7 separate regions of the Homo sapiens genome follow, and regions 2, 3, 4, 5, 6 and 7 are each linked to region 1. The links are contacts of gene promoters, found by promoter capture Hi-C in blood cells and fetal thymus (Javierre and others, 2016). All regions are on one chromosome and are shown on one strand. The core of a region is centred on a gene start or on the middle of the fragment in contact, and the rest is flanking DNA. Distances in the headings are between cores, read along the strand shown.

Region 1 (3,653 bases), core at 328-2,827:
ATCTTCCGGATCTTCAATCACACGTCTTATGCCTGGGCGCTGCAATGCTGCCCTTTTTAGGGATCGCATCAATTTACTGACTATTTCTTTCCTCACTTTAAGCACTGGAATGTTGACTGTCTTTTTAAAAGCTGTTCTATCAAGTTTTGTCATGCCTCGGACATCAGAAGGTGGTGAAAACAATTCAGTCTCTCTCTCATGTGTTTCTGTTTCTGGCATGGTTGAGAATCTTTTTCTTTGACCCAATAAGAAAATACCAGGTGCTTCCAAAAGCATCTGTGTCAGGGATGTCCAAGCTACTGGAATCAACGATTTTGATTCAGTTATGCTATGGCTTTCCAGTTTCAGAAATCTTCCTGAGAATCCAAATGGCCTCCATAAGATCCTTAAAAAAAAAAAAAAAAAATTCACACACGACAGCTTTTGAGAATAAAAATCTAAATTCTACTATCTCAAATAACGGGCTAAATGCTGACAAATAAAACGTTTAGTGATGTGTGGGAAGTATACTATCTTTTCCAGACTAGGATGACTTCTTCAGGAAGTCGTATTAGTGGTAGATAATAGTGGTATATATTAAATTTACACCTTCAACCCATCTGCTCCCAGTTCAGAGGGCTTAGTGATCCATTAGCCATACTCAATGATCCTCTTCACCCACAATTTTCTAGATAATACATTTGGGATTGGAAGACTGAAGTATGAGTTAAATGGTCATCTGTAAATGAAATAGTCATTATACATGACCATTACTAGTGGTGATATTTATTAGGATAGTCTCATGGGTGCTTATTGTGTCAGATACTGCGCTAAATGCTTTATGTACATTATGAATCTTGGGAGGTGTGCAGTATTGCACCCTCATTTTGTAAATAAGTAAACTAAAGCTCAGACGTAAGGTAACCCACCCAAAGTCTCCCAGCTGATAAGTGGCTAAACATGGATTAAAACCTAGTTTTGACTGACTTCGGTGCTTGTGTTCTTAATATATTGCTCTGTTGTTTGTTTTCGATGCTTTACTGCCACATGTCCTGCCTTTAACTAGAGGCTTCTGTATTTTGAGGACGAGAGCTTTGCTGATTGTTATATGCATAGTATCAGTTATTCACTGTCTTCTAAAATACCAAAGAATTTACTTGTAAGGGGAAAGGGCCCTGTCCCAGAATCCTGTAAAGCAACGAAGTCTAACTTCACCGTCAGAGATCAAATTGGTTCTAGCAGCTGACCAGCTGGGTGACCCTGGATAAATTACTATAAGTCTCGGTTTTCCCACCAGTAAAATGTGGCGAAAGGCTTTTGAAACATTCCTTACTATCCAGAACCTCGAAACTAAGCTCAGCACCTAGGCGGGTGGGTGACCTCGCGATGTTTCTGTGCCCAGGCAGCACATGGCAGAGAGCAGCCCTGGGCGGGCTGGTACCTCCCCTGGACCATTAGCCCCTAACGCGGCCGCCACCTCACCAAAGCACCATTCCAATTCCCCACGTCGCTCTGCAGCTGGATCCGCGAGCCGACCCCTCACCTCCCGCTCCGGTACCGATCGGATGTGGGTCGCGGGTGGATGGGCGGGTCTTCTATGACATCATCACTGTTCGCCGCGAAGAGGGCGCGCGTCATCAGATCAAGTCGACTCGCTCCTCTCCTTCCAGGCCCTGGTGAAGTACGGAATGCCGGAAGGGCCGGGCTCAAAGCTCCGCCTCTGGCGCGACCGACGACTGGAGCGCAGGGCAGGGGTAGAGGCTCGTAGATGGAACTGGTAGTCAGCTGGAGAGCAGCATGGAGGCGTCCTGGGGGAGCTTCAACGCTGAGCGGGGCTGGTATGTCTCTGTCCAGCAGCCTGAAGAAGCGGAGGCCGAAGAGTTGAGTCCGTTGCTAAGCAACGTAAGTGGGCTGTGTTCGCTTCCCCGCGCTGACGCCCTCCGGCTTCCCTCAAGTGCCTGCCAAATAAGACCCAGAAAAGGAGGACCGCACCGGGACAGGGGAGATGCTGGAGCCTGAACCCTGGGGGATGGGGTCTGAAGGCAGCCGCCGAGATTCAGATGAGATTGGCGCAGTTATGAACGTGATAGCAGCCTAGCATACTCTAGAAAGAAAAGATGAAAAGCGTCGGGTGGAAGAGATGCAGCGTTGAGTGGAAGCTGCGAACATGATGGGATGAGCGGCCCTAGGATTATGTACTCACTGCTGTTAGTTAGTATTTTTGTCACCTTATTTTCTCCACCAGTCTCGTGAGGTCTTTGCAAGAGTCACAGGATTTTCCTCTTCCGACTTAGTCATGGGGGGAGGGAAAATAATAAACATTTTAATACAGAAATTCTTAGCGGTAGAATGGAAGTGGCTTGGTAGTAAGTGCATAGCACGTTCCTGACCCTAAAGCCTGTGCAGTGGGCACTCCGCTTTTTAACTCGAGTCCTAGACACTGTTCCCAGGACTTTGTTCCCGGTGCTGTTTGTGGGGAGGGGGATGTTTTCAGGGATACTGCCAGAACAACGTGAATTGCTTCTGTTTATAATATTGTCATTGCAAGATATTCCTGACCATCCTTCCAGTTTGGTAGAACTAATTCATTAGATATATAAGTAGAGATTAGTTGTGCAGTCCTAGTAATTGAGGAGAAACAACTGCCCACAGCAGTCCCAGGTTGACTCAGCAATTCTTTAGTAATCACATGAGCTGAGGCCTTATCCCTCCTCTCTCTCCCCACTCCATTCCCATCCTATCTTCATCTCTTGCAGTCACAAGGTTAGTCATGGCCCTTCCTGAACTCTGCCTGTCTTGTGTACTGGTGGAAATCATTTTCCTAAGAAACCCTAGATTCCTGGAGCTGCAGTAGTGGGAGGTGGGAAGGAAAGGAAAGGAAATTAGTGTTGGTTAAGCAACGAGTGTGTCATACAAACCCTGGTGGTTTGCAGCTTTTTTCCATAATCTTTCATTTATGGAATTTCTTTACGAAATTTTAACTTCACCGTCCAAACATTTAACACTACTAAATTTGTGTGCTTACAGGAACTTCACAGACAGCGATCCCCAGGTGTTTCATTTGGTTTATCAGTGTTTAATTTGATGAATGCCATCATGGGAAGTGGCATCCTTGGCTTAGCTTATGTTTTGGCTAATACCGGTGTCTTTGGATTTAGGTGAGTCTTCATATTTTAGCATCAAATTTTTTTTTCCATTTTGATAATATACGGAGAAGTAGAGAGATAGATTCCAGAAGCTGCTATTATACAATTTCTAGTTAGTTATTTCTGGGGTTTTAGCATTTTTCTTGTTATTCTTGTTGCTAGTGTGTACCTTGGAGGGCTACTACATAGCTTCTTAAATACACAGAAGTGTGACTAGTTTTTAAAAATGGGAACTTGATCCACATTTCATTTATAATGAAATATGACACTTAAGAGTGGCATATTCATTGTATCTCCTTGGCCAAAGTGAATCAAAGCCATGCAGATTAACTTCCAAATAGCAATTTTGTGAGTGCAAATACAACACATAATCTTTTCATTCCTCGCTGTCTCTTTGTATTGTTAAGTAGTCTTATTTCACTTTCAGAGGCCAGACATGTGTTTTGTGCCTGTTCTTTTTTATGTTTCAGGACTTAGCTTGTAGGCCAGTTTGCCCAAAATAGAAGACAATCCTGGATATTCTGTGCT
Region 2 (3,653 bases), core at 753-3,252, 350 kb before region 1:
CTATTCAAAAAGCATCCATGAAGCACCATCTAGGTATTTGGCACTGAGCTGGGCACTGGTCATACAAAGATAAATAAAGTGCACCCTCTCATATGATAGATACCCATCTTCTTCCTCTATTTATCTTCCCTCAGATGCCATCTATGCCTTAAAACTTAGACAGAATTATGGACGAGAAAATAAAGAACACAAAGGGAAATTAGGTTCAGTAATAAACAGGAGTAGGGGAATGTCCAAGAACAAAAGTTTGGAAAAATATAAAACCGATCAGACTCTCCTCAGGTGCTCCATATGGATCAGGTCTTACTAGAAATCTCTTACCTGGGAACTTTAAACAAAGGACAGTCAGCCTCTAATATCAGGATGACATCTGGCAACCTGAGAACACTCCAGAGACATTTATTCAATATTCAGAAAAGAAAACTACATGTCTAGGTTCTTTATAAATCATCAGAGTCAAGGTTTTCTTGTTGAGGGGAGGAAGAAAGAAAAAGGAATGATAATGCTACCTTCTGAAGTTGACCAAGACAAAGTCTCTAAATCATCACAAGCTGATCCTATCTAAAGTATGGACAATTTGAAAATCCATGAGATATTTTCCAGATTTTAGCCCAAGTCCTAGACCCCTTGAGGTTTAACTAATGTGCTAAACTCGAAATGATACTTGCCCCTCTAAACCCTTTCTGAACAAGACTAGAAGGGGTTTATTGAGAGCATAATTACTGCTTCTGGAAATAACACCAGAAAATGTTTTTTAAAGGATAAATACTGAGGTGTTTTGAGTGGGCATCAAAGGTGGCAGTGAACTTCTGCCAAGAACCTTAAAAGGCAACCACAATGCAGTAAACTCAGCCTGTTCTGATGGGTTATCTAGAACCTTAAATGTTTTTTTTTCTAGCCACCCTGAACTCTTAACAAGAAGATGACAAACCACAGGTTAGACAACTGCAATAAAGGATGTTATTTATTATGTACAAGTTACACTCTTAATAAATTATCTTTGCCAACATGCTGAATACAGTAAGGCATTCAGGCAGCTGGTGTACTCTTTAGCAGATCTCTAAGATATGATTCTACTAAAAATATAGAAAGAAATTTTAAAACATAAAAAGATAGAAATAGAACCCTGATGGCCTGAAAGCTTTTGTGTACCTTAACAGACCTGTAATTTACTAAGGGGTGAGGGAAAAGGTTGACTGAAGCTGCCTGCCTAATCTAGATTTACAAACTGTTTATAAAATTGGAGCAGTCAGTCCAATAAACATTATGCTTTCTGTACTGCAAATGGCCAGTTTCACTGCATTTGAAGTAGTTGTTGTTTTATGGGAATGTGATGCCAGTTTTCTATAGGCACAGCCTTAGGCATTTGGAAGAATCTAGTTTAAAAAGTGTAACCATAGTTTATACACATGCTTATACTTGTTAACCAATACAACTACAATTATTCCAAAAAGACACTGTTTATATTAGATTTGTTTTTCTGGGTTTAATACAGAGTTAAACACCAATAAATTCACTGAATGTAGTTAGATAAAAATCTTGCTCTCATTACCTTATGAACATTTACTATGGTTAACACCTTCCTGGGGTAATCTGGCAGTATTTTTGTTTGGATTTTTTTTTAATTAAAAAAAATGCTAGCAAAGGTAAAGAGTCACAGTTTAAAGACAAAGATCATTTTTCTAAATTTTTTATAATAAAAATACTTATCTCCCCCAAACATGAATGACGTATATATTAGATACAACTTAATGAAACCAGCCTACACCTTTGTTATAAAATATGTGATGTTACCATGATGCTTTTCTAGGTAATTGTACTTCCCATTTCTCAGGGACAATTTGTCTCCAAGGCTACCTGGACGGTTTTTAGTTTCCACAATCTTATCAAGAGAGATCAGGCAGGGTGATAAGGCTATCCCATATACAGTTGTATCTGGAGGCCATGGCCAAATCCTCACTGTTAGCGCTACACTTGACCCAAGAACCATTTTGTGGATTGCTCGTGAATAATATTTTTAACCATAATTCTCTACTCATTGTTAGAAAGGAGAGCTTTCTTTATATTTAACTGGTCAACTCTTTAAAATAAATGTGACCTCAACTCTATGAATTAACCAGTGGCCATGAGCAGATTCTTTCTGAGACAGCCACATTAAATCATTCTACCAGGAGGGCAGAGGCCTTTCACGATGGTGGTTTTCTAACTATTGCCAAATTCTCAAGGTAGAAAAGTGTTCCTATAAGAGTTAGAGGTACACTCCACTACCTCTTTTCCTTGCATTCACAAACAAAGACAGTACTAAGTTGGAATTCTCATGAGATGCTTACTGTTTTCAACCTTACTTTTATTATCATTGCTTGTACATACATGGCCAGCAATTTCACTTTGCCAGAGATTTCATTCTAGGCAAAATTTCTAATTTAACTGTAACACTCAGAGCATATCTAAATATTTGGATTCATTTCTGATGAAAACAAAGGGGCCAGAAGTTTAGAAGAGATCTCTGTGCTGACATGTCTGCTTTCTAGATGCAAAGCATTTGGCTCAACCAGGCAGCACAAGTTCACTCAATTATCTAATCCCTTCTAGCATTACATTTTTACTTTTTCAAATCTTTAGCTAATTATAAGCACAACTTTATCAGCAAAAGAGAGAAAACGTTTTTTCTTACCCCTTTTGATTCAACTTCATTACCAACTCCAATGTCTCCCCCCTACAAGCCTTAATTAATTACCCACTGTTGATGAATGAGTCAATGATTCAATAGTGTTTATTTCCATTAGTAAAGACAATTGCATAGAATCTACCTGGCATGGTTATGAGAATGTGTGAAAGAGGAAGATATAGGGAAAAGAAAGAGCCAAGCTTTTGAGAGATTACTAGATAGGTCAAATTGCTGAGAAAATAAGTAAGTTACAGTAATCTCTCACTTCACATACATTACCAAAAACTATGGTCCTTAGGAATTCACTGCTGGTTCTGTTTACTGTCTCCAAATAGCTGATCCAAGATAAGAAATTTTTTTCTGACATTAAGCTGATTCGTGAATGCACATTGTCTAAGATGGTACTTCATCTTAATAACCCATTGATTTCTATAAAACTCAATAATCGATTTTTTTCTTACTGAAAAAATTTACCAATCTGGTAGTCATAAAGAGATACAGTATACATATAATAGCCATCAGTATTATAGTCTCAGTAATTCACCTACACTAAGCAAGCTTATATTTTTCTTCCATAAAAAGTATTTATAAACATTATAACTTTTTGTTCAATCTTAAGAGGTTAAATCAATTAAAATATGAATAAATAGAAAGTCTTCAAAGCTTCCTCAGCCATCAGCTTAACAGCCATCCACATACACACAAAAGATACCACACTAAAATCTAGAACAGGAAGTAAAGAATAAATACCACTTCCAGTTATGACTGGAACATAAAGGCGCATACGCCAGGTCTTACATCTGAATTCCAGCCAGGATGCCAGCATCGTTGATACTACTTCCAAGAGAACTAAAAAATATTAAGGTGAATTGTGTGGTCAGGACTTGATGTTTTATTTCTCAGCTCTTAAGAAATGTGGCATCTTAGAATTCTCTTCTCTTAATGGATAAAATACTGTAACTTCAACTTTCGACCAGTTGATGTA
Region 3 (3,653 bases), core at 760-3,259, 330 kb before region 1:
CCTGATTTCTATTTACAAGTGTCCCTAGTCGCTGCAGTGGTTGCTGCTCCAGGAATCCCTTCGAGGCCCCAGTCCCTCCCCACTTAGGACCCCAAGTCCACCAGACTGGAGGTGAGGGGGCCGAGCAGAGAGTCTTGGAGCTGATGCTGGTGGGTCTGCAGGCCGTGACTGGGCTGCGAGGCTGTTAAGCCCGGGAGAGAATAGTTTGAGCTCCTGGCGTGGCCCATATTGCCCTGCAGCAGAAGGACCGAGTTCTGGTCTGGACTTTGGGGAGGTGAGAATTCCTCTTCTGAGCTGGACATGAGCGGCTTGCCCCCTTCCAGAGGAGAGAGTTGGTTCTGCTTGTTGGAGGAGGAGTTATTGTTTTCGGTGTTCTCCCTAAGAAATAGAGGACAACACCATATGGTTAAAAAAAAAAAAAAAAAAAAAAAGTAGGTTAAAAAAAAAGTGTGAGATGGAGGGAGGGGAGCTGGAAGGAGGAAAGGGCCATTGTGCAATCTGTCACCAACCCAAATGGAGGAGCTCTACCCTTCCACCCATCCCCAAGGGTAATGGGGGAGGTGAGGAGTCAGAGGAACCTGGAGAAATGGAGAGCTACGGACAGAGCCTCCTGTTAGGAGCCAGGTCCTTTTCTCTTCCAGATTTCAGAAAGTGATAGATTAGCAGGATTTATTTGAAACATACAAAATATATGTTTTAAATTTTGTTCAAGCAGTTACATTTAAATACATATAAACTAGCAACATATTTAAATGTAACTGAAAATCTTTCAATAAATAGATATTGGTGATAAAGAAATGATAGAGGACAGAGTCCAATGCACAAATGTTTGGGGTGAATCAAGTCCATTGCCTTGTTCGCATATGAGGAGACAATTAAACATCCCGTTTTCCTGCCCCAGCCCAGAGTTGGTGGTTTTGCAGACACAGAACAGGTCATGGGAAGTGGTGCCCAGCGCGGCCCAGTGACCTGAGTAAACACAGGGAGCGCAGCCAGTCTCTGATTTCATCTGGAGTCGGCCCTCGGGCCTGGCTTATAGGACGGCCGTTTTGTAACTAAAGGCTAACTGCAACCATACAATCCCTGTTCCTGTGTTACTTGCTAACTCTTCAGCCCCTCGTGTCCCCCTCTCAAACTTCCTACCAACACCCACCCCAACCCATCCTTTCTGGGCAGGGGAAACTTCGCCGCCCCGCACAGGCTGCCAGCGGGCGCGGCGCGCTGGGGCGTCAGTCCGGGCACTCGGTACCGGTTAACTTCAGGATTTCGCTTCCCTCGCCGCTTCCGCCTTCCGAGTGCTCGTCAGTCCTCCCGACTCCTAGCGCCTGTCTGTCTCCTTTCTTTCCCCTTATCCTCACAGTCTCTGTCTCCCGACAAGCCCATTTCAGCAGAATTTATCCTGGCTCTGGTTTTCCACCAAGACAAGAAAGGGAGCAAGATCTTCGGCCCCTAGTCTTGGAAGCGAACAAAGGAAAACCTAACCGGCCCCTGCGCTCAGGTTTTCCCCCAAACTCTTTGGCTTCGCGGAGCGCTCTCCCCGCCACAGCCACCTCCCCACCGTCCTTCTGAATCTCTGTCCGAAACGCTATAGAGAACAGAAGGAGCCTGCCCAGGTGGCCGAAGGTGTTGCCCCGAGGTGGGGGAAAGTAGAGACCAATTTTTAAAATATTGCCTTGTGAGCTCCAGTGCGAGAGAGGGCTGCGACTGGAGACCCTTTCCTCGTCTGGGCATGCGGCGCGGTCAGCCAGACCGACGGGCTGCAGTGCCGGGCCACGCGCGAGCGAGCACGGCGAGGATCAACCCTTTCTTAATTTGGGGCGCCGGGGAGTAAATGCAGCGCCAACTCTCCCCAAAGCTCTCTTTTTGTTGTATCTTTAAAAGTCTCCTCCATTTGTCCAGCTAGTGAGAAATGAAGCAGGCTACCTCTAAACCAAAAGACTATCAAGAGAGAGCTGTGGAGAACCAGGCGGGAGTGGGGGCAGAGCCAATGTCTCAGGCCAGCTTCACCCCTCTGGGGAGCAAGAGGAGAGAGGTTCGCGAACCTCAGCTCCCACCAAACCCCTTTCCTTGCGACACCAATCAACATTTCACTGCCCGTTGATTTAGAAACTCACTCTCCACCCACCACTCATAGCCGCGGCCAGCCAGGGAGGCATAAAGACCAAATCTAGCGCCAATATTTCCCGACACTCACATCCCAGAGAAACCCACGCGCGGGTGCTCAAAGCAAATGAGGCCCCATCCTTAGCAAGGAACCTCAGAGTTCATGAACTTTCGCTGCAGCGCCGCGGAGGGCCTGCGCGCCGCCCCGTGGACGGGCTCCGGCCGGCGGGGAGGACTTGGTGGCTGGTGCCTGCGGGGGCGGGAGGGGGCGGAGGAGAAAGGACGGCTTCCTAGGGTCGCCCGAGTCGCGGGAAGCACGCCGCGTACCTTTCCTTGGCCTCCGCGGCCCGGTCTCTTTGCCTCCGGTTCTTAAACCAGTTGCTGACCTGGGTGGTGGTGAGGCCGGTGGCCTCGGCCAGCTCCCGCTTCTCACGCGGCGATGGGTAGGGATTGTGCGCGTACCACTCCCGCAGGACACCCCTCGACTTCTCCTTGAAGCAGTAGCTGGTCTCCTCGCCGTCCCAGATGGTGCGCGGCAGTGGAAATTTTCGGCGCACCCGATATTTGCCCACGGCGCCCAGGGGTCGGCCGCGCAGCTTCTCGGCCTCCACGTAATGCGCCTTCAGCCACAGTTGCTGCAGTTTGGGGTGGTTGTGAGGCGAGAACTGGTGGCTCTCCAGGATCTTGTAGAGCTCACGGAAGTTGCCGCGGTGGAAGGCGACCACCGCCTTGGCCTTGAGTACGCTCTCGTTCTTGTGCAGGTGGTCGCAGGCGGGCAGTGACCACAGGAACCTGCCCAGGCGCTCCAGGTTTCCGCCTTGCTGCAGAACCTCGCACACGCACGCCACTTGCTCCTGCGTAAAGCCAAACGACGGCAGCATCGACATGGCTGGGGCCTGCCGGGGCGCACGGCCCAGGCGCACGCGGCAGGGAGCAGAGCCGAGAGGCAGGGGGCGGCGGCCGCAGGGAGGGGGGCGCGGCTGTTCCTAACCTCCTCCTTAGGCTTTGCAAAGGCGAAAACCGGAGTCGGAACTTGGCGGTGGGCGGCCAAGGAAGAGAAGGCGGAGGAGTAGGGGAGGTTCTGGACACGGAACGGCCGGCGCACTCAGTAGCCTTTAAGGCCTTGCTGCCTCCGACCTCCCGCCCGGTGGATGCTGCTAGTTGCCGGGGAACTTGGTTTCTGTTCTCCCCGCAGCGGCCTTAAAGCGCGCAGCGTCCCCGGCACGCTGATTGGCTGCCGGCGGCGCCTATCCGGGGCTGGCCAGCCAGCGCGCCGCCCGGCTGGGCAGAGAGGCCGCACCGCCCAGAGCGGGGAGGGCGAGGCTGCGGAGCTGGGGGTTGGGGGTGTTGCCGGGGCTGCGCGGGTAGGGAGTGGTGGGAGGAGAAGGAAGAGGAAAGGTGGGAAGCCAGTTGGGGTCTGAGGGAGCTGCGCTGCGGAGGTGTGGGGAGGTAGGGAGTGGGTGAGCGCGTCAGGACCCTGCAACGCGGGACCCGTCGCCAGTATCACCTAAGGGGAGTCGCGCACAACTCCGCACAAATCAATGACTCCA
Region 4 (3,653 bases), core at 350-2,849, 310 kb before region 1:
ATGAAGATTCTCTCCTATTTTTTTCTAGAAGTTTGATTTTTTTAATTTGATATTTATATTTTTGAGCAATCTTGAATAATTTTTGTATATGGTATAAGGTGGAGGTCAAATCTATTAGTTCATTTTCATGCTGCTGATAAAGACATACCTGAAACTGGGAACAAAAGGAGGTATAATTGGACTTACAGTTCCACATGGCTGAGGAGGCCTCAGAATCATGGTAGGAGACGAAAGTCACTTCTTAAATGGTAGCAGTAAGAGAAAAATGAGGAAGAAGCAAAAGTGGAAACCCTTGATAAACCCATCAGATCTCCTGAGACTTACTATCACAAGAATAGTATGGGAAACACCAGCCCCCATGATTCAATTACCTCCCCCTGGGTCCCTCCCACAACATGTAGGAATTCTGGGAGATACAATTCAACTTGAGATTTGGGTGGGGACACAGCCAAACCATATCACCAACTTTGTGTTATTTTTCTCCATCTGGATATCCAAGAGTTCTAGCCTCATATGCTGAAAAAAACCTGTACTTTCTGTTTTCTTTTCCTTTTTTTTTTTTTTTTTTTTTGAGATGAAGTCTTGCTCTGTCTCCAGGCTGCAGTGCAGTGGCGTGATTTCAGTTACTGCAGCCTCCACGTCCCAGGTTCAAGTGATTCCTCTGCCTCAGCCTCCCGAGTAGCTGGGACTATGGGCGTGCGCCACCACACCTGGGTAATTTTTTGTATTTTAGTAGAGACAGGGTTTCACCATCTTGGCCAGGATGGTCTCAATCTCCTGACCTCCTGATCCACCCACCTTGGCCTCCCAAAGTGCTGGGATTACAGGCGTGAGCCACCGCACCATGCCAAAACCTGTACTTTCTACCACAGAATTGCAGTGGCCCCTCAGAGGAAAAGCATTCAATGGTTCGCCATTACATATGTCAGCCATAGTTTCTGGGCTTTCTGCAGATAGCTGTTGTCAGATTAAAAAAATTCCCTTCTATTCTTAATTTGCTGAGCTTTTTTTTCCTGAGTGGGTGTTATATTTTATCAAATGCTTTTTCTGTATTGATTAAGATAATTATATGGTTTTCTTTGATAAACCATAGTTGGTAATGATGTGCTATCTTTTTTATTTCTCTGTATTCAACTTGCTAATGTTGTATTTATAATTTTTACAATAAAATGTATTATGATTTTCTGATATATAACGTATTATTTATATTTTTCTAAAGCATATTAATAATCCTTTCCATATGCAGAAAAGATTTTTGTTTTGGCATCAAATTTATGTTAGCCATAATAAAATATGTTAGCCACAAAAACAGTGTTCTCTTTTTCTCTAATCTCTGAAAGGGTTTGAGAAAGATTGTCATTATTCCTTCTTAAATATTTGGAAGAAGTCACCTTTGAAGACATCTGGGCCTGGATTATCTTTGTGAAATTAAAAAAACATAAATTTCCTTCTAAGCACTGTTTAAGCTATATTCCACAAATTTTGATGTTTTATTTTCATTATTCTTCGATTCAAAGTATTTTCTAGTTTTGTTTGTGATTTATTCTTTGGCCCGCAGGTCATTTGGAAGTATGTTCCTTAATTTTTATACATTTTGGAATTTTCTACTTATCCATCTGTATTGGTTTCTGGTGGTCAGTGAATATACTGTATATTATTTCAGTACTTTGAAATTTTTTAAGACTTGCTTTATGCCCCAGCATGTGGTCTATCTTTGGTATGTGCTTGAAAAGAATGCGTATTCTGCAGTTGCTGGGTATAGTGTTCTATAAATATCAATTAGGTCAAGTTGCTTAATAGTGTTGTTTAAATATATCTGTATTGACTTTTTGGTCTTCTTGTTTTTAACAGTTACTAAGAGATGTCTGTTAAAACCAATTAAGGCCAGGCTTGATGGTTCAAGCCTGTAAACCTAACACTTTGGGAGGCCGAGGTGGGCAGATCACTTGAGGTCAGGAGTTCGAGACCAGCCTGGCCAACATGGAGAAACCCCATCTCTACTAAAAAAAAAAAAAAAAAACGCCAGGCGCGGTGGCTCATGCCTATAATCCCAGCACTTTGGGAGGCTGAGGCAGGCAGATCACAAGTTCAAGAGTTCGAGACCAGCCTGGCCAACATGGTGAAACCCCGTCTCTACTAAAAATACAAAAATTAGCAGGGCTTGGTGGTGCACGCCTGTAATCCCAGCTACCTGGGAGGCTGAGGCAAGAGAATCACTTGAAGCTGGGAGGTGGAGGTTGCGGTGAGCCAAGATCTCGCCATTGCACTCCAGCCTGTGCAATAGAGTGAGACACCATCTGAAAAAAACAGAAACAAAAATTAGCCAGGCGTGGTGGTGGGCACCTGTAATCCCAGCTACTCGGGAGGCTGAGGGAGAAGAATCGCTTGAATCTGGGAGGTGAAGGTTGCAGTGAGCCAAGATCCCACCACTGCACTCCAGCCTGGGCGACAAAAAAACCTCCAATTATGATTGTGAATTTGTCTATTTCTCCTTTTAGTTCAGCTCATATATTTTAAAGTTATGTTATTATGTCCAGACAAATTTAGAATTGTTGGGTCTTCCTATTGAAGCAAACCTTTTTAGTATTATGAAATGTTCTTTCTTATCTCTAGTAATACTTCTTGCCTGAAAGTATACTTTGTCTCATAAATATGGTCATATCAGTTTTCTTTTCTTTCTTTCTTTCTTTTTTTTTTTTTTTTTTTTTTTAGACAGAGTCTCACTCTGTCACCCAGGCTGCAGTGCATGATCTCAACTCACTGCAACCTCCGCCTCCTGGGTTCGAGCAATTCTCCTGCCTCAGCCTCCCGAGTAGCTGGAATTACAGGCGCATGCCACCGCAACCAGCTAATTTCTGTATTTTTAGTAGAGATGGGGTTTCACCATGTTGGCCAAGCTGGTCTCAAACACATTACCTCAAGTGATCCACCAACCTGGGCCTCTCAAAGTGCTGGGATTACAGGTGCGCGCCACTGCACCCTGCACCTGGCCTCCAGCTTTCTTTTTTTCTTTTCTTTTTTTATTTTTGAGACGGAGTCTTGCTCTGTAGCCCAGGCTGGAGTGCAGTGGCGTGATCTCGGCTCACTGCAAGCTCCACCTCCCTGGTTCACGCCATTCTCCTGCCTCAGCCTCCCTAGTAGCTGGGACTACAGGTGGCCGCCACCACGCCCGGCTAATTTTTTGTATTTTTTAGTAGAGACGGAGTGTCACTGTGTTAGCCAGGATGGTCTCAATCTCCTGACCTCGTGATCCGCTGGGATTACAGGCTTAAGCCACTGCGCCCAGCCTCCAGCTTTCTTTTTATTAATATTTTCATGCTGTCCTTTTCCCATCCTTTTGCTGTCATCTGTGTCTTTATGTTTAAAGTGTGTTACTAATGAACAATGTATCATTTAGTGTTTTATAAAGAAAACTGATATTCAGTTACACTTAACGAACTTACTGATATGATCTCATGTAACTCTACCATCTATTTGTTTTCTGTTGGTTTCATCTTGTCTATATTCCTCCTTTCTAACTTGTTTTCTAATAATTAAGTGGTTTGGTCTTTTTTAAGAGACGGGGTCTCACTCTGTTGCCCAGGTTGGTGTACAGTGGTGTTATCATAGCTCACTGTAACCTCGAACTCCTGGGCTCAAACATTCCTCCCACT
Region 5 (3,653 bases), core at 621-3,120, 300 kb after region 1:
GGTGTGAGCCATCACACCAAGCCTATCTGGTAAATCTTAAGTCTTTTTTCTAGTAGATCACCACCACACCCCTAAAAGGGCAAGCCCCATTCTTGAGCTCAGAGCCTTTCCTCCTTTTCTCCTATTCCTGGATGGCCTAAAGGTACTAGTTTATTCATTCCACTAATTAAGGTGACAGATTTTCAAAGTCAAAAGAGAATATTTCAAGACAAGGAATGGTCAGCAGAGTTAAACACAGCTGAGGGTTCAAGTGAGATAAATGAAAAGGAATTATGGGGTTTGACTTTTGTGGGAACACTTTGGGTGGTTTGTGTGGCAGGAATGAGGTTACCATCAGGTGCAGGGAAAGGGAAGCAGATAGCAAGATAGGAAGACACTCTTTTTTTATTTTTATTTTTATTTTTTGGAGATGAGGTCTTGCTGGGCATGGTGGCTCATGCCTATAATTCAAGCACTTCGGGAGGCCAAGGCAGGAGGATCACTTGAGCCCAGCAGTTTGAGACTAGCCTGGGCAATATAACGAGATCTTGTTTCTACAAAAAATAAAAACAAATTATCTGGGTGTGGTGGCATGTGCCTGAGGTCCCAGCTACTCAAGAGGCTGAGGTGGGAGGATAGCTTTAACCAGGGAGTTATGATTGCGCCACTGTACTCCAGCCTGGACAACAGAACAAGACCCTGTCTCAAAAAATAAAAATAAAATAAAAAAAGAGAGAATGGGGTTCTAAAGGGGAAAGCCTGTTTTTAGAAATGTGTGGAAAGGGAAGGAGAAAGGCAAGTGATAACTGTCTAGAAGAGCATGTATCCTAAAGGAAAGGCTTCTTTTTTAGATGTCAGAGAAGTGTGTATCCTGAGGGAAAAAGATAATAGTGCAGATGAGGTTGAAAAGAGGGGTGGCAAGCTTACTGATAGTGCAAAGGCAGGAGCAGGCTGGAGACGCTGATCCACCAGCCAGAGCCACTGGTTTCAGAGAACAGGTGCAGAGTTATCTCACCTCTGAAACAAGAGGGCAGGGTGATAAAAATGCCCTCTGCAGAATGCAGCTGGGTATTGGGCTCCCGCACCTCAGGCTGGGAGAAAGAAATGACTGAGTGTGACCAGCATATGGTGGTTTTCAGGGCAGATGAATTTGAAAGATAAAAAATTCAAGGTATTGCAGTCCTTGTGGAGGGGTGGCTAAAGAGATGTGCCTTAGTAGTTAATCTGAAAGGCGAAGAAAATGAAACCAACCCTGTGGATCAAAAGAAAAAGAAGATACTGGTAGATTGGCAGTCCTAATAATGTTAATTGGCAGGTGCCGTGAAAGCTGGGAGGAAAAAGTGCTGGTATGAGATGGGGTGTTAAAGATCTTGGAGGTGAAGCTGTACCAAGGTCCATGTATACACTATATTTCCCCTACCAGCTCGTAAGTTCCGAGAGGTGGAAGACTGATATAGATATACATTGTCGTGTTCCTCAGAGTTCACTATGTAAGGAAGGTTCAGATCTCATTTCTCTCATTTTATTACATATGTTGTGATGTATTAAAGGATGCTTGGATCATGTAAACTCTTTAGTACCAGTAAAATAAGAAACAAGTTCACTCTAAAATTGTTTTTTGTATCAGTGTTATTAAGAACTCAAAGGAAAAGAAAAAAGGCATTTCTAGTCCAAATACTGCTAAAATCACTTCATTTTTTCATTTTATCTCCCAGACTTTATCCATGTAAATATTTAATTTTTAATAGATTGTAATTAAGATATACACACAATTATTCTAGTTGTCAAATTACCTCATTTTGGAATGAGATGAAGATTGAAATAAATATTTTCTATGTTCCTTAATGGTGCCATAATTCATAGGTCTATCATATTTAACTATTGTTGGACATGTAGGTTATATCCAGTTTTTCAGTATTCCAAAGTATATGATAGTGACCATCTTTTCTGCATATAACCCTTTTTAAAAAAAACTATGTGTCTCCCTTTCCCCCTAACGTTTTCTTTCAGATTTTTTTCCTTGGGATAAAATTCTAAAAGTAGGAAAGGGACTTAAAGGTGAAGCTCTTTAAAAATACATACTGCTGGAGTCATATTTACACTGCCACACCAATGTATATATTTTGATACTTTCACCAAAAATTTGCCAACAAAACCAAGAGCTAAGCACAGAATATATTTAGTCTATGCCAATAAACTCTCAGATACTAGGAGAATAGTATTGGATAGGGGAAAGAATGCTGGCCGGACCTTAAGGAAGTTCAGATTCTACCCTGAAAGTTCCTTAGGATATAACTGTGTGACCTTGGTCAAATTGCTTAACTTCTCTGTTCTCATGATTGCTTATCTGTACGAACGTGTTTACCAAAATGATTGTTAGTGTGTCTTTTTTAAGCAAAGATTTCTGTTCCTAGTCTTCCTTACAATGACTCATTGAATAATAGCTAACTTTTATTGAGTACCTTCTGTGAATCAGTACTTACAGTCACTGCGTAAACACTTTATATACATTGTCCCATCTAATTTGTACACAAATGGGGGGCATTCAGTCCAATTATACTCAAAGAACTGATGCAAAACTAAGATTCAAGCCAGTGCAATGGAGGCTGCCTGAGTTCTCATAGTTGTAATGGGGAGATGAGGGATTCAAAGGGCAGCTTAATTCCAGTGTCCTGTTTCTTCAACCATGCTACACTGTAAGGCCTTGGCATATTTCCTCCTCAAAAAACTCCAAAAACGTTAACCTTGAACCAGTGTTTATTGTTGCAGATCTTCTCTTAACACCCCAAAGATAAGCAAACTCTGTTCCATTTACACAGAGTCCCAGGAACAGCTGAGTTGCTTGTATTTTTGTTTTTACAAAAGCTTTTGTTTTAAATCCAACTTTTGTTTAGCATGCTCATTTCTCTTGCTAGAATAAAAATAACTTCACTTGTCTGGCTGTTCTCAGTTTTTGCATGTAGTTCATTTAATTCATGACTATTTATCTTACTGTAACAGAACCTGGGTTTTTAATTGGCATTCCCTTATATAGGTTTATACTGCTCAAGATTGTTGCCTATTACTCTGCCCATGGGGCAGCTTTTATTTAAAAAGAATCAAATTAAATTGCTTCATAAAATTACAGCATGCGCTCAGAAAAGTTTTAAAAAAATTCTTTGTGCCTGGACTTCATTTTTTATTAAGAACTGCATCCAGCAGACTTCTGTTTCAAAAGTTATGGAGTGGTACCCCCTAGTGGAAGATGCAGAGAAACTTTAATTAACTAGCACTGTAAGCACCAGAGGCACAAAAGACAGAAGCGAATTCTCTCCACTCCCTGCCACGGTGTGTTGGTTCTTTGTCACTAACTTACTGCAAAACAGTGGTCAAAGAGAGGGTGAACTCACACCTGTAATCCCAGCACTTTGGGAGGCCGAGGCGGGTGGATCACCTGAGGTCGGGAGTTCGAGATCAGTCTGACCAACATGGAGAAACTCCGTCTCTACTAAAAATACAAAATTAGCCGGGTATGGTGGCGCATGCCTGTAATCCCAGCTACTCGGGAGGCTGAGGCAGGAGAATCGCTTGAACCTGGGAGGTGGAGGTTGCGGTGAGCCGAGATCACGTCATTGCACTCCAACCTGGGCGACAAAAGCGAAACTCCATCTCAAAAAAAAAGAGGGTGAACTGTG
Region 6 (3,653 bases), core at 594-3,093, 290 kb before region 1:
TGCCTTATTGCACATACATCAGCATTAAGCATCATCATTATTTTAAATCTTTACTAATTTAGTAGGAGATAATAGTATCTAATTTTAAAATATTGCTTCTTATTCATTCATGGAATATTTATTTCCCAAGTACCTATAGTGTGAGACATTGCTCTGACAACAATGGTAAGACACTATCCTTATGGAGCTTATAATTCGTTGATTACGAATAAGTCTAAATTTTTTTTAAATGAGCAGTTTCGGAGCCAGGCACAATGATGCACACCTGTAGTGCCAGCTACTCAGGAAGCTAAGGTGGCATCCCTTGAGCTAGGAGTTCGAGGCTGTGGTGTGCCATGATTAGGCCTGTAAATGATCACTGCAGTCCAGTCTGGGCAGTATAGTGTGTTCCATCTCTTAAAAAACAAACAAACAAAAAAAAAACAGCTTTTGAGTTTCATTTTAAACTGAGAATTGTACATTGCCTCAAACTTTTTAAGGAGATACAAGATGATGATAATTTAAAGATGATATTTATCATCCTGATTCAAAGAGAGATCTATAGACATCTCCAATGAAAAATTGGCATTTCGTCTTTCATTTATATGACTACTTGCATTCTGTTATCCAGACGAGAGAGCTCCATAAGCTTCAAGGAAGTAGGCCAAATACAGTGGCAGGTTACTCATTGACCATTGCCCTTGACCCCAGTGTCTATGGTCCAAGGCAGATTACTCATTGACCATCGCCCCCCACGCCAGTGTCTATGGTTCCTTTTTCCTTTTTGGAATATAATTTCCCCACCTTTTAGTAGGGGATATGGCTACTCACCTAGAGACTACAATTCCCTTGGAGCTAGGTGTGGACATGTGACTAGCCAATGATATGTAAGAAGTGATTTAAGCAATATCTTGATTATTTCTTAAAGAAATAATTTCTGCTGGGCATGGTGGCTCATGCCCATAATCACAGCACTTTGGGAGGCCAAGGTGAGTGGATTGCCTGAGCTCAGGAGTTTGTGACAAGCCTGGGTAATGTGGTGAAACCCCATCTCTACAAAAAATACAAAAGATTAGTGTGTGTGGTGGTGAGTGTCTGTAGTCCCAGCTACTTGGGAGGCTGAGGTGGGAGGATCCCTTGAGCCCAGGAGGTGGAGGCTACAGAGCTGAGAACATACCACTGCACTGCAGCCTGGGTGACAGTGAGACTCCATCTCAAAAATAAATAAATAAAAAAAGAGATAGCTTCTACTCTAGAAATGACAGGGAGTGAAAATCAATGTTGAGGGGCACAGAGACCAACTGCCTGCCTGGGATCCTGGATGGCCTGATAGAGCAGAGGTATCTTGTCAACCTAGGCTACTCACCTTTGGGCAGTCACTTGAGATAAATAAACCTCTATCTTATTGAAGTCACTGTAATTTTGGGCCTCTACAACAGCAGATAGGCATGTATACTAACTGATATGCTTACATAATGTGATATGATATGAAAGGTACTACAGAAGCCCAGAATATCTGTTCTACTGGCCTATATAATGTATGAAATGTCCTCATTAGAGAGTCCTCCCTCTGAGTTAACGCAGTGTTTCACAAAATATGTGCTGCTGAACACCAGTTTATCAGATAATTACAGATACTGAGATATGCTAGAATAAAAGGGCTAGTGGCCGGGTGCGGTGGCTCACACCTGTAATCCCAGCACTTTGGGAGGCTGAGATGGGCAGATCATCTGAGGTCAGGAGTTCAGCCTGACCAACATGGTGAAACCCTGTCTCTACTAAAAAATACAAAAAATTAGCTGGGCGTGGTGGCGGGTGCCTGTAATCCCAGCTACTTGGGAGGCTGAGGCAGGAGAATCTCTTGAACCTGGGAGGTGGAGGTTGTAGTGAGCCGAGATCGCGTCATTGCACTCCAACCTGGGCAACAAGAGAAACTCCGTCTCAAAAAAAAAAAAAAAAAAAAAAAAAGAATAAAAGGGCTAGTGTCCAATTACCCAATTACATTTCAGACATGCAGAGTCATATCACGTTTTTTGGCCTGTCTTTTATTTTATTTCATTTTTAAATTGACAAATAATAATTGCACATATTCATAGGGGACATAGTGATGTTTCGATGTATGTAATGTATAGTGATCAAATCAAGGTAACTAGCACAGCCATCATCTCAAACATTTATCATTTTTTTGTGTTGGGAACATTTGATATCCTCCTACCTAGTTGAACTATATATTATCGTTAATGATAGTCATCCTATGGTGGCATAAAACACTAGAACTTATTCCTTTTTTTTTTTTTTGAGACGGAGTCTCGTTCTGTTGCCCAGGCTGGAGTGCAGTGGTGCAATCTCAGCTCACTGCAACCTCTGCCTACCGGGTTCAAGTGATTCTCTTGCCTCAGCCTCCCAAGTAGCTGGGACTACAGGCACGCGCCACCACACCCGGCTAATTTTATATTTTTAGTAAAGTTAGAGTTTCACCATATTGGCCAGGCTGGTCTCAAACTCCTGACCTTGTAATCCACCCGTCTCTGCCTCCTAAAGTGCTGGGATTACAGGCATGAGCCACCGCACCTGGCCAGGAACTTATTCCTTTCATCTAGCTATAATTTTGCATCCTTTAACAAAAATTTATTTCAACACTGTCTTTACTAAAAATATAAAATTAGCCGGGTGTGGTGGCATGTGCCTGTAGTCCCAGCTACTTGGGAGGCTGAGGCAAGAGAATCACTTGAACCCGGTAGGCGGAGGTTGCAGTGAGCCGAGATTGCACCACTGCACTCCAGCCTGGGCAACAGAACGAGACTCTGTCTCAAAAAAAAAAAAAAGGAATAAGTTCTAGTGTTTTATGCCACCATAGGATGACTATCATTAACGATAATATATAGTTCAACTAGGTAGGAGGATATCAAATGTTCCCAACACAAAAAAATGATAAATGTTTGAGATGATGGCTGTGCTAGTTACCTTGATTTGATCACTATACATTACATATATCGAAACATCACTATGTACATTCCCGTCCTCTTCCCAGCCTCTAGTATTGTCTGTTCTACTTTTTACTTCCATGAGATCATTTTTTTAAGCTTCCACACTTGAGTGATAACATGGTGTCTAACATTCTGATCCTGGCTTATTTCATGTAACATAACATCTTTCTGTAACATCCATGTGCTGTGAATGACAGAATTTCATCCTTTCTTATGATTGAATAGTATTTCACGGTGTATATATACCAAATTTTCTTTCTCCATTCACTTGTCATTGGACGCCTAGGTTGATTCCATATCTTGGCTATTGTGAATAATGCTACAATAAACATGGGGATGTAGAAGTGTCCCTGATATAATTATTTCCTTCCTTTTGGATAAATTCCCATAGTGGCATTGTGGGATCATATGGCAGTTATATTTGTAGTTTTTTGAGAGAACTTCATACTGTTGTACATAGTAGCTATACTAGTCTGCACTCCCACTGACAGTGAATAGGAGTTCCCTTTTCTCTGCATTCTCACCAACATTTGTTATTTTTTGTCTTTTTGATAATAGCCACCCTTAAGGGGTGAGGTGATACCTCATTGTGGTTTTGATTTGCATTTCCCTAATGTTGTTGTGCATTTTTCCATGTATTTGTTGGCCATTTGTATGTCTTCTTTGGATATGTCTGTTTAGATCGTT
Region 7 (3,653 bases), core at 659-3,158, 290 kb after region 1:
GAGACTGGGCTAGGAGAATAAGATCTAGGGAGAGCTCCAAATAAGAGCCCCCAGCTGGGTGCAGTGGCTCATACCTGCAATCCCAGCACTCTGGAAGGATGAGGTAGGAGGATCACTAGAGGTGAGGAGTTCGAGACCAGTCTGGCCAACATAGCAAAACCCCATCTCTACTAAAAATAAAAAAATTAGCCAAGCGTGGTGGCATGCGCCTGTAATCCTAGCTACTCGGGAGGCTAAGGCAGGAGAATCACTTGAACCTGGGAGGCAGAAGTTGCAGTGAGCTGAGATCACCCCCAAGAATGTGAAAAGGGATTCTTTAAGAGGGAGAAAGAGTTTTAAAGACTACTGAAGCTTTTAGAAAAATCATAGGTCCTTGGCTGGACATGGTGGCTCATGCCTGTAATCTCAGCACTTTGGGAGGCTGAGGTGGGTGGATCACTTGAGGTCAGGGGTTCGACACTAGCCTGGCAGGCATGGTGAAACCCCGACTCTACTAAAAATACAAAAATTAGCTGGGTGTGATGGCATGCACCTGTAATTCCAGCTACTCGGGAGGCTGAGGTAGGAGAATCACTTGAACCTGGGAGGCAGAGGTTGCAGTGAGCTGAGATTGTGCCACTGAACTCCAGCCTGGGCAACAGAGCGAGACTCCATCTCCAAAAATAAATAAATAAATAAATACATAAATAAAAATTATAGGTCCAGAAAGTATGTAGTGATAAATAGCCCCTGAAGCTGCATAATAAGACCATTTTTAAAAGCAAGGAACTTCTGGGAGTGCATAAAAAGTAAAATGCATTGCAGGGAAACATAGGAAAATCATTCATGAGCCTCCGAATCAGTGGCTTGACTCAGCACTGAAACATGGATCTTGAGCAAAGACAGATGGAAACTTGTTTTACGAAGGACCAGGAGAGGAATTGTCTCACGAGAATATGTAACTAGAAATGGCTTTATATGCCTGGTTCATCTATATGCTGCTAATGCACTTATTTGTGTATATTTTATGCTAATAGAGGCCCTAAAACTGATATAAGAATCTGTGTATGCTAAAAAAAATTCTGATTCCCCGAGCTTTGCTGAAACGGCGCCTAGGGAGGGAGATGAGGTGATGGGGATGGGTGATGGGAAACAAGAAACACAGTTTTTGAAGGAAAAGCAAAAACTTCATTCCTTGGGTGGGATGGTAGAGGGTGGGGTTGAAGGGAGTCTTCAACCACGCCAAGTCTAAATAGACTGGGAGGCTTTTATTTGGAACTCTCCTTTGGCAACGTTTTATCACAGCATGTTTTCCATTCTTGGCGGAGAAAAGGACCTGGAGGCTATAGAACTGGCTCAGTCTTCACTCTGACAATACGTTCACAATAATGGAAGACATCTTTTCCCTATAACTTTGAAAAACATGAAAGCAGATATTGGCTCTGAGTATGTCTGATAGTCTAACTTTATTTCCTGTCAACAGAAATAACTATGATTTATATGTGGTCATCAACTTCGCATACTCACATACAATTCAGATTGAGAGAGTACAGCGAGATGTAATGCTCGGAGCCTTGATGTATGCCTATCTAGCAAAGCTTCCCGGTTCAAGGAGACCTCAGGGACTGAGAAAGACTCTTTAATATTCTCACTCTTCTGACACTCTAGCCCCAAGTGCATCCTTCCAGTGAGGTATATTACATGGGCTTCAGACGAACTACATGTAGGCTTTGATCTCTGAGCCCCTCAGCTACCCTTCTTGTGATCCTGAAGGTTGGTTGGACTGAATCCAATAATTATAGTGAGATGCTGAAGGCTGAGGAGCTGATTCATGTTGGCATCCGGCACACTGTTTTATTCTTTTAGTATTCGTTTACATCAGAGGAGTGAGAGCATTTTAAAAATTCCATTTTCTTCTCAGAATGGATTGATAGTGCAGGCAGTGGAAATTGAGTGAATACACCTTTTCAGTTAATGCCATCTTATGTCATCTGGTTTTGAATTCAAAAGCATTTTTTCCACTGTCTTGTTGTTATGCTGTATAATTTATTGAATTTAAGATGTCGAGAATCATAAGATGCACCATTACGTTATGTACCACTAAGAAAAAAAATGCTGCCAATTAAAATATCACCTAACAATTTTTTACATTTTTTGCACTTTATCCTTATTAAAAGGGTGCTTTTATATTTGTTTAGATAGATTTTTCTTACGTATCATGCTTCTGCTGATATGAAAAGAAAAATATATTTAAAATAAACTAAGCTTTATTTTTGCTAAGATTTTCCTAAAATTCCTTCATGTTCAGAGTCCAACTCTTCGGAATCCCTTAAAGACAGAATCTTCAATGTCTATGTTATTGTACACAATGCAGTGTTTTGCCCCAAATATGACAGTACTGCACAATGACAGCTACATCCTGACCATTACCTGGCTGACAGTGAGTCTGTCTAAGTGCCAGCAATTGTAACATGCCATGGATTGTGAGAAGCCAAGACTTTGATATACATCCTGATTTTAGAAATGTTAAAATGTGGGGGGAAGTGCAGCTTAGAATGGAAGAAATATTTGTTTTGGTATTGAAGAATGGTACCAGCTTCACTTACACACAATTTTAAAATAGTTTACAAAAATTTATATTTCTGGCCGGGTGCGATGGCTCACACCTGTAATCCCAGCACTTTGGGGGGCTGAGGCAGGTGGATCACCTGAGATCAGGAGTTCGAGACCAGCCTGGCCAACTTGGTAAAACCCCGGCTCTACTAAAAACACAAAAGAATTAGGTGGGCATGGTGGTCCATGCCTGTAGTCCCAGCTACTTGGGAGACTGAGGCAGAAGAATCACTTGAACCCGGGAGGCGGAGGTTACAGAGAGCCGAGATCGTACCATTGCACTCCAACCTGGGTGACAGGGCAAGACGCTGCCCCCTGCCAAAAAATATATATATATTTCTTAGGTTCAATATCAACCTCAAAAAGTAGGCAAAGTTTAAATCATTCCCACCTAAAGCTTTTTGCTTTGATTGAATGACTGTTCCAGTACAAGCAATTCAAAGCAATTCATAGAATGCTAACTGGGCATACTTAATTTTGCTTCTGGAAAGACTCTGGAGGCTTTCTGCTCCAGAAAGAAGTGACTATTGTAAGTGTATCAGTCAGTCCATTAAGCTGTGAGTCAGTTTCATACAGTTCCTGGGAAAGGCATCTGCCAATATTTATTGGTCTTCCACTTAAAAAGAAAAATATAGTTTCAAATATAAAAAGACATATTCTTCCTATTTGGCAAAGACATTTGGTGAAAAGAAAAAAAGTGGCAGTCTTTTCCATTTTTTGTGCCTATGCTTATGACAAAGTAAATGACGTGTACTTTTCCAAAGTTAGAGCCAAAAATTTTTTCTTTATGACATAGTTGTAAAACTAACATATTTGTGAAAAAGTTTTTTTAGAGAAAAAAGAAATTTGTAGTAACCACTAGAATCATATTGCAGAAAATATTATTTGAATAAAAATTAATGATAAATTTTTTGATCACTTAATCATAATGTATAGAAAGTCACAAAATTGTCATAAAATTTATAAACATCCAAACTTTATTTACTCCCAGGAATTTTAATTAATTAATTAATTTTTATTTAAGTTTTAAGTTCAGGGGTACACGTGCAGGTTTGTTACAT

Evidence for each region. Contacts are between HindIII fragments. The CHiCAGO score rates a contact against its expected background, and 5 or more counts as called.
Region 2: a fragment that was not itself captured here is called in contact with the fragment with the promoter of TRMT5 in region 1 in 15 of 17 cell types (endothelial precursors, M2 macrophages, M1 macrophages and 12 more); the score reaches 17.6 in endothelial precursors.
Region 3: a contact is called between a fragment that was not itself captured here and the fragment with the promoter of TRMT5 in region 1, in 13 of 17 cell types (endothelial precursors, M2 macrophages, M1 macrophages and 10 more). The highest score is 14.8, in endothelial precursors.
Region 4: a fragment that was not itself captured here is called in contact with the fragment with the promoter of TRMT5 in region 1 in 1 of 17 cell types (endothelial precursors); the score reaches 6.0 in endothelial precursors.
Region 5: a fragment that was not itself captured here is called in contact with the fragment with the promoter of TRMT5 in region 1 in 1 of 17 cell types (M2 macrophages); the score reaches 5.0 in M2 macrophages.
Region 6: a contact is called between a fragment that was not itself captured here and the fragment with the promoter of TRMT5 in region 1, in 1 of 17 cell types (endothelial precursors). The highest score is 5.5, in endothelial precursors.
Region 7: a contact is called between a fragment that was not itself captured here and the fragment with the promoter of TRMT5 in region 1, in 2 of 17 cell types (endothelial precursors and M2 macrophages). The highest score is 6.2, in endothelial precursors.

The regions. Positions count from the first base shown.
Region 1 is chr14:60,979,502-60,983,154 of GRCh38, forward strand. TRMT5 (tRNA methyltransferase 5) reads right to left here and starts at 1,578. Exons shown (of 5, transcript NM_020810.3): 1 at 1,462-1,578; 2 at 1-385. The coding sequence starts at 1,472. It overlaps SLC38A6 (solute carrier family 38 member 6), which reads left to right and starts at 1,744. Exons shown (of 16, transcript NM_153811.3): 1 at 1,744-1,881; 2 at 3,007-3,137. The coding sequence starts at 1,777. RefSeq lists an enhancer at 1,468-1,847. The HindIII fragment of the contact is 5,504 bases long and covers 1-3,653 here.
Region 2 is chr14:60,629,057-60,632,709 of GRCh38, forward strand. No RefSeq gene overlaps it. Among named protein-coding and RNA genes, the nearest start is that of SALRNA1, 8.3 kb to the right of the region's middle. The HindIII fragment of the contact is 1,727 bases long and covers 1,140-2,866 here.
Region 3 is chr14:60,646,200-60,649,852 of GRCh38, forward strand. It overlaps SIX1 (SIX homeobox 1), which reads right to left and starts at 3,278. Exons shown (of 2, transcript NM_005982.4): 1 at 2,431-3,278; 2 at 1-378. The coding sequence starts at 2,990. The coding sequence ends at 84. MIR9718 (microRNA 9718) reads left to right here and starts at 2,449; the gene lies at 2,449-2,512. RefSeq lists enhancers at 697-1,319, 1,320-1,941, 1,942-2,563, 2,564-3,184 and a silencer at 3,195-3,434. The HindIII fragment of the contact is 4,221 bases long and covers 1-3,653 here.
Region 4 is chr14:60,669,443-60,673,095 of GRCh38, forward strand. No RefSeq gene overlaps it. Among named protein-coding and RNA genes, the nearest start is that of SIX1, 22 kb to the left of the region's middle. The HindIII fragment of the contact is 9,505 bases long and covers 1-3,653 here.
Region 5 is chr14:61,283,147-61,286,799 of GRCh38, forward strand. It overlaps a transcript of PRKCH not described here. Among named protein-coding and RNA genes, the nearest start is that of TMEM30B, 3.6 kb to the left of the region's middle. The HindIII fragment of the contact is 1,943 bases long and covers 900-2,842 here.
Region 6 is chr14:60,690,812-60,694,464 of GRCh38, forward strand. No RefSeq gene overlaps it. Among named protein-coding and RNA genes, the nearest start is that of SIX4, 32 kb to the right of the region's middle. The HindIII fragment of the contact is 2,434 bases long and covers 627-3,060 here.
Region 7 is chr14:61,265,761-61,269,413 of GRCh38, forward strand. It overlaps a transcript of PRKCH not described here. Among named protein-coding and RNA genes, the nearest start is that of TMEM30B, 14 kb to the right of the region's middle. The HindIII fragment of the contact is 667 bases long and covers 1,576-2,242 here.